Regions from separate parts of the Homo sapiens genome. Here region 2 is linked to region 1. Evidence: promoter capture Hi-C in human tissues and cell types (Jung and others, 2019). All regions are on one chromosome and are shown on one strand. The core of a region is centred on a gene start or on the middle of the fragment in contact, and the rest is flanking DNA. Distances in the headings are between cores, read along the strand shown. Region 1 holds the start of BRF2 (BRF2 general transcription factor IIIB subunit). Region 2 overlaps ASH2L (ASH2 like, histone lysine methyltransferase complex subunit).

What was found. The method cuts DNA at HindIII sites, captures the fragments that hold promoters and counts their contacts. A contact is called where the count stands out against the background at its distance.
Region 2: a fragment that was not itself captured here is called in contact with the fragment with the promoter of BRF2 in region 1 in 1 of the 25 tissues and cell types used here (IMR-90 fibroblasts).

The regions. Positions count from the first base shown.
Region 1 is chr8:37,847,657-37,851,598 of GRCh38, forward strand. BRF2 (BRF2 general transcription factor IIIB subunit) reads right to left here and starts at 2,205. Exons shown (of 4, transcript NM_018310.4): 1 at 1,974-2,205; 2 at 940-999. The coding sequence starts at 2,127. RefSeq lists enhancers at 1,881-2,020, 2,061-2,410. The HindIII fragment of the contact is 10,485 bases long and covers 1-3,942 here.
Region 2 is chr8:38,118,452-38,122,393 of GRCh38, forward strand. It overlaps ASH2L (ASH2 like, histone lysine methyltransferase complex subunit), which reads left to right. Exons shown (of 16, transcript NM_004674.5): 9 at 819-912; 10 at 2,481-2,698. It also overlaps the pseudogene RNU6-988P. Among named protein-coding and RNA genes, the nearest start is that of ASH2L, 15 kb to the left of the region's middle. The HindIII fragment of the contact is 6,776 bases long and covers 1-3,942 here.

The DNA.
Region 1 (3,942 bases), core at 955-3,454:
GTAGCTGGGATTACAGGTGTGCACCACCAGGCCCAGCTAATTTTTGTATTTTTAGTAGAGACGGGGTTTCACCATGTTGGCCAGGCTGGTCTTGAACTCCTGACCTCAAGCGATCTGCCCGTCTCGGCCTCCCAAAGTCTGGGATTACAGGTGTGAGCCACCATCCCCATTTTAAATTCCTAATTACCATTCTCTTCTACTCTACCTCACACCAGCAATGCTGAAAATAGGAAAAGTGAAAAGCTGGGCTAGGCCACCAGGATAGTTTTCTTTTATTATTATTATTATTATTATTATTATTATTATTTTTTGAGACAGAGTCTCGCTCTGTCACCCAGGCCGGAGTGCTGTGGTGCGATCTCGGCTCACTGCAAGCTCCGCCTCCCGGGTTCACGCCATTCTCCTGCCTCAGCCTCCCGAGTAGCTGGGACTACAGGCACCCACCATCACGCCCGGCTAATTTTTTTGTATTTTTAGTAGAGATGGGGTTTCATCGTGTTAACCAGGATGGTCTCAATCTCCTGACCTCGTGATCCGCCCGCCTCGGCCTCCCAAAGTGCTGGGATTACAGGCATGAGCCACCGCGCCCGGCTCATTATTATTTTTTTGAGATGGAGTCTCACTCTGTCACCCAGGCTGGAGTGCAGTGGCGCGATCTCAGCTCACTGCAACCTCCACCTCCCAGGTTCAAGCGATTCTCCTGCCTCAGCCTGCCAAGTAGCTGGGACTACAGGTACATGCCACCATGCCCAGCTAATTTTTGTATTTTTAGTAGAGACGGGGTTTCGCTATGTTTGCCAGGCTGGTCTTGAACTCCTGACCTCAGGTGATCCACCTGCCTAGGCCTCCCAAAGTGCTGGGATTACAGGCGTGAGCCACAGCACCTGGCCTAGGATAGTTTTCTTTAAAGCCACTGTGTTGTAAAAGGTCAATTCTCACCTCGTTGCTGGCTGCGACTAACTTGTTCGTTTTCCCCTGTGCTTCGGGAATATGTTACCTCTGTAAGATAATAAACAACAAATAGTGTGCTTAGCCTTTATTCATCAGACCCCTGCCCTCCCACCACACAAAACCAGGACGCAAAATTCAAATCATTGAGCATCTGCTGCTGCACAGTTAAAGGCCCCATCTGGTTTTCTATGTCTACAAGAGGTTCCGAATACACAGAGACTGGGAAAGGTTAGGACTGCATTAAAGCAGCTCCAAGTGTTCCAAATTTCCAGTCATCCTTCCAGTACATTCCATACAGGCAATTTTCCTAGCAGCAGATTTTGTTGTTGTTTGTTTAAGGAGTTTCCCTCTATAGTCCAGGCTGGAGCACAGTGGTGCGATCACAGCTCACGGCAGCCTTCAACTTCCAGGCTCAAGCAATCCTCCTACCTCAGATTCCTGGGTAGCTGGGATTACAGGTGTATGCCACCATACCTGGCTAATTAAAAAAAAATTTTTTTAGGCACTTGTCTCGTTACGTTACCAAGGCTGGTCTCGAGATCCTGGGCTCAAGCAATCCTCTCGGCTCTGCCTCCCAAAGCACTGGGATTACAGGCGTAAGCCACCCCACCCAGACAATGGCTGCAGATTTTGAGGGCTGCACTGGTCAGAAACTTGGAAAGCAAAGAAAAGTGATGTTTTGCCAGTTTGTGCTTAAAACTATTTCAGGGTAATAATACCTGCTATAATCGTATCGGCAATCCTTCCACAATGACCAGACATGGCAAGATGAGTGGAACTTTTGTTTCTGTCTCACTTATTCAATATTTATTACACGCACCATCTATGCCCGATACTAAGTGCTGGGAAAACACAGATGAATGGCAGCCCCCATCTCCTTCAGCTCCCTCGCTCACTTTAGGTCATTTTCTCTCAAATTAAGTGTGTGCGTTACAGTTAGGAGTATGGGGGGAGCGGGGAGGCAAAAGGAATCTGATGTTAATCCCTCCACCGCCCCAGGCTGTCCCCAGGGCCACAAGTACCTCGGAGATTGCCCTCGTCGCTGAAGGTAGTGGTAAGGACCCCCTCGGTGACCACGCAGCCGCAGTCGGAGCACACCAGCTGGCTCTGCGAATAGTGCGAGTCTTCCACCAGCTCCGTGGAGCCGCAGTCCGGGCAGCGGCCTCTGCCTGGCATCTCACAACCGGCCCCAAAGCCGCGGAAGCCTTCAGAGACTCCTGGGTCTGCAACAGCAACCGTGAGGCAGCAAGAAGTAGGAGGGGACACTTCAAAGGGTTGCACCCCCGTCTTCCGGCCAGCGCGACGGAGGCATAGGCGGTTCCCTCCGCTGGGAGGCTGCGCGCCACTTCCGGTCTGTGCCTCCGCGGGCTCGGGTAGAAACGTGAGCTAGGAGAGGAGGTTCCTGGGCTGAACTGTAGCTGTCTGGTTTCCCTGCACTCTGTAGTTAGTTTTTGGGACCTAGACTGGGGTTGAATTTGGGAAAGTTTTTGCCTACATGGACACGTATAACAGACAGAAGATTGTTGTCACCCCTGAACAACCCTCCTTTTAAAGTCCTAAGGGAATCGCAGGTTGGTAATGAATGTTTAATTGGCCATAGAAGAAAGTATATTTTTTAAAGGGAGAGTAGTGGAGAGAGAGCGGGAGCAGGAAACTGTGTTCTGCTTTCCAGAGCTGCTTCCTAAAGCAGATTCCTTCCTCTCTTTACCTCCTGTTTTTCTCAACTGTAAAATGAGGAAGTTGAAAAAAAAATCCAGAGATGCAAACCCAAACGCTTTTGGAGGCCAGGCAGGAATGTCTAAAGGAGTTTGGAGTGAAAGAATATGGAGTGATGGAGACCTGGAGCGGCGCAAGCACGCAGATTCAGATGTTTTTTAAAAAACCTTGAGCTATCTGGGCGTGGTGGCTCACGCCTGTAATCCCAGCACTTTGGAAGGCCGAGGCAGGTGGATCACCTGAGCTCGGGAGTTTGAGACCAGCCTGGGCAACATGGTGAAATCCCGTCTCTACTAAAAATACACAAAAATTAGCTGGGCGTGGTGGTGCACGTCTCTAATCCCAGCTACTCAGGAGGCTGAGGCAGGAGAATCGCTTGAACCCAGGAGGCGCAGGAGGCGCAGTGAGCCAAGATCGCGCCACTGCACTCCAGCCTGGGTGGCAGAGCGAGACTCCATCTCAAACAAAATAAAACATACCTTTAAGAAGTGTCACTCCCTTCTTTTCCACACCCAGTTTTTACACGTGATATCCAAACCTAAAGACACCATCCCTTCCCTAAGAGACTGCTTTCTCAGAGTGTGAGAATCACTACTCCTTTTCAGAGACATCCCGTCCATTCCCATGGGGATCGCTCACATTGGAGGGCCAAGAGACACAATAATACCCAACGGTCCTTTCTCTTCAATTTGAATTACTTTAGTATCATAACAGAAGGGGGCTTCAGCACATTAATCGTGGGTGGGATCCGGCAGTCCAAGCCCCCCCGCCTTTTCTAGACCTCCCCACTAGCGTGAGATACAGGATGAGAGCTTATTTCTGGCTGTCTGACAGTTAAATATTAAGATACATTTGCACATGCGCACCCGCACACACACACCACTCAGAGACATCCATTAGTTTTAGTGTGGTTGACATTCTTATTTGGATGAAGAAAGTGTCCCTGAAAGCGACATAACTTGCACTGGGAACAGTTCCTTGCATGATCACACAGCAGAGCATCAGACTCCCCTCATCCCCAGTTGTGTGCAGATCTTGAACCTACCTTCACTTTTTTTTTAAGCGGGACTTTACAGAGCCCATCTACCTAGGACAGAAGCCTTGAAATCCTGCCTGACCCAACCTGATTGATTGTAAAGTGGAAAAGCAGTTTTATGATCCTGCAGCCAGCCACGGAAGGAGAAAGCTGGTTGTCTTTCCCAGTCACACATGATGTACTTACTGGGAGCCTAGGAGAGCCTGGTCCTCGGGCACACACAGGCTGGGAGGGGGCAG
Region 2 (3,942 bases), core at 787-3,286, 270 kb after region 1:
GTGGCTTTAGTATGTAGCTAAATTTTTTGTATAAAATATGTAAATTGTCTATTCCTATTTATTGCTTTTAGTTCCACAAGCCAGGTTAATCTAACCTGAATTTTAGTGCATTGGCACAATCTTAATAAATGTTGTATTTGACGAATGGGTATGGAACTAAAAATTGCCTAGCAAATCGAAAGCCTTCTTTCTTATTTGTGTCATGTGCAACCACGATGGAGATCTAGCAGTACTGGAGAGAAACACCTTTTTAGTACTTCTGTTTCCGTTTTCCATGTTGGATGTATTTTGTCTTGTTGGATATTCAGGTTCAATGCTTTAGCAGATACTGTGCTTTTATGATGTTTATGGACTGTATTGTGTAGTTCAAGCAAGTGAACATCGACTTACAGTGAGGATATTCTCTCTTTATGGGTGTTTGTATTAATTTGGATGAAAAAAAATGTGCCCATACAGTTGTTTTCATTCTTTTTAGCTGTGGGTGTTTGGGATCTGAATGAGTGAGAATGCATTTGTGTCACACCCTGAGAAAGTATACCAATAGTTGCAGTTTATTAGGAACAAAGGTTGAAAACTGTAACCCAACCATCATAGTGCTGGATTCATTTGAGTTTATTGCCAGAACCCAGTGTTCCCAGGCTATGAGATGCTCAGTAGATTCTTTGAAAACTAGGGTGAAATCCAATATGCCTTTGGAAGGAAATCCTCCTGTGGTGTTACACAAATGCACATTGGGTGTGTTGGTCCCTATGGAATTTCAGTATCCACATGGTGTTTCCCTTGTGGCTCATTGAAAGCAATCTGCCTTCTCTTCAAAGGGGGAATTGCAGCAGGAAGCAGCGGAAAAGGACGAGGAGCCAAGCGCAAACAGCAGGATGGAGGGACCACAGGGACCACCAAGAAGGCCCGGAGGTGGGGAGAGTGCCCACCCTGCCCCCCTCACTATTTAAGTATTATTTGGTGCTGGGAAAGTCCAGCAGAGGGAAGAGAGTTCAAGGGTCGGAGGTTAAAAAGCCTGTCCATTTTTTCTAAACCTTGAGCACTTTGAGGGACAAAATAACCCCAGGTTGGAGGCCAGGCGCAGTGGCTCATGCGTGTAATCCCAGCACTTTGGGAGGTCAAGGAGGGTGGATCACTTGAGGCCAGGAGTTTGAGACCAGCCTGGCCAACATGGCGAAACCCCATCTCCACTAAAAATACAAAATTAGGCAGGTGTAGTGGTGAGCGCCTGTAATCCCAGCTACTTGGGAGGCTGAGGCAGGAGAATCGCTTGAACCTGGGAGGCGGGTGGCAGTGAGCCAAGATCATGCCACTGCACTCCATCCTGGGCAACAGAATGAGACTCCGTCTCAAAAACAAAACAAAAAACAAAAATAATAACCCCAGGCCGGGCACGGTGGGTCATGCCTGTAATCCCAGCACTTTGGGAGGCTGAGACAGGTGAATCACCTGAGGTCAGGAGTTTGAGACCATCCTGGACAATGTGGTGAAACCCCATCTCTACTGAAACAAAAAACAAAAAAATTAGCTGGGCCTGGGGGCACGTGCCTATAATCCCAGCTACTCGGGAGGCTGAGGTGGGAGAATTGCTTGAACCCAGGAGGCAGAGGTTGTAGTGAGCTGAGATCGCGCTATCGCACTCCAGCCTGGGCCACGAGAACGAAACTGTCTCAAAAAAACAAAACAAACCCAAGTTTAAGTGTCATGTTTTACATTTAAGTGTACATACATTTGTTAGTACAAAATTTATAGTAGTAACAAGTATAGTGTCTTCTGGTGATAAGCCTGGGGAACCTAGGGAGTGAAGTTCTGTTAAGGCGACTTGAGAAAGGATAGGTGGGGAGGGAGTGAAACCAGTGTTGAATGTTAGCTCCTTTAGCTCCTTAACTTTCTGCTTCTCCCTTCTCATGCCTTTTCCCTTCCCTTTGTCTAAAGCTGAGGTGATGAAATCCAGGTTGCTTATTTATTTATATATTTTTGTGAGATGGAGTTTTGCTCTATCACCCAGGCTGGAGTGCAGTGATGGAATCTCGGCTCACTGCACAAGTTATTTACTTAGATTAGCAAGATAGCAAGTGCTTATGTCTCTGAGCTTCTGTTCATTACTTTATAATAATCAGTATACTAAAGACTATCACCCTAATCACCCCCATTCCTCTCCTCCCTTCCCCCCCCCCCCCCCCCCGCATAATGTACCAGCTCAGTTTCATAGACATCAATTCATGTTTAAAGACCACTGGGAAGATATCCACAATCTACAAGTAATTTCACCAAAACTACCTTGCTCAATAAAGCTAATCCTTTTCACTTCCTTGTTTTGCCTGAAGAGGGCAGAGTTACTTATTTGAGTAATGAGAAGTATTTGCTGTGAAGTTGCATGTATTCTAGCTGAAATAAACCAGAGGCCTTTCTTACACAGTTGAATGCATTTGAGCTAAAGGGGGTTTTAGTTTTTTGATGTTATTTTTTCCTTTCTGCAGTGACCCTTTGTTTTCTGCTCAGCGCCTTCCCCCTCATGGCTACCCATTGGAACACCCGTTTAACAAAGATGGCTATCGGTATATTCTAGCTGAGCCTGATCCGCACGCCCCTGACCCCGAGAAGCTGGAACTTGACTGCTGGGCAGGAAAACCTATTCCTGGAGACCTCTACAGAGCCTGCTTGTATGAACGGGTTTTGTTAGCCCTACATGATCGAGGTATGTAAAGTATTGGAGATCATATGGATGCAGGGTTACTTTGAACTGCCATCATTAGCCTTGTCAGTCTAGAATTAGGTGTACATCTCAGTCTGTTGCCACTGCCTCACCCCCATCTCTGTCTAGATTCATCCAGAATGTGCAAGAAATTCTGTTCCTTCCTATAAGCTCCAGCCGTTTTATTTATATATATATATATATATATATATATATATATATATATATATATGGTTTTTTAAAACTTTCTATTTTGAACTAATTTTAAACTTGCAGTAAAGTTGCCAAAAATAAGTTTTCTTTCTCATCAAGCTTTTCCTAATGATAATATCTTAGAAAACCATAGTACAGTTATCAAAACTGGGAAATTAACATTGGTAAATATTATCAACACAACTAGAGAAAGACCTTTCAATTTTACCAGTTTTTCCACTCACACTTAATTATTTCTCTTTAGTCTATTATAGTCTTTAACAGTTCCAAAGCCATTGCTTATCTTTCATGACCATGATATTTTTAAGTGTTTTAATCAGTTATTTTGTTGAATATTCCTCAGTGAAGATTTGTCTGATGTTTTCTCATGATTAGACTGAAGTTAGGCAGTTTGGGGAAGAATAACACGGAAACAATGTCTTATAGCATCATCTCATGGGATTCATGATGTCAGTAGGTCTTATTGGTTACGTTGACCATGATCATTTGGTTAAGGTGATTCTGCTAGCTTTCTCCACTGTAAAAAACTACCGTCTTTCCCTTATACTTAACAAATGTCTTAGGCAAAAATACATCGAGTCTATCTATGCAAATATCTTGTTTGTTTTTAAACTTATGTTCACTAATTTTAGCACCCATCAGTGGATATTGTCTGCAACAATTATGACTGTGTTGTATGATGATTTTCGATTTCCTCTTTCCCTTTTCTGTTAATTGATTATTTATATCAGTATGGACTCATATATATTTACTTTATTTCAGGGAGTATAATCCAATACTTTGATTATTTTGTTGTTTAAATTATTCCAGCTTTGGCAAGTAGGAGCTTCTTCAAGAAGTTGGTTCTTGTGTTCTTTCGATAAGCCGTGTCTTTTTTTAAAAAAAAAATTTCTTTACTTTGAGGCATCAAAAGGTGTTCCTGGCCAATCTTATATTTTCTGTGCCCCAGGCCTACTTCTTTCACCGAGCCCTGGTTCCTTTGATTGGAGCATGTTGTTTAGGAATAACATCTAGGTGCTCACTTCCATATATCA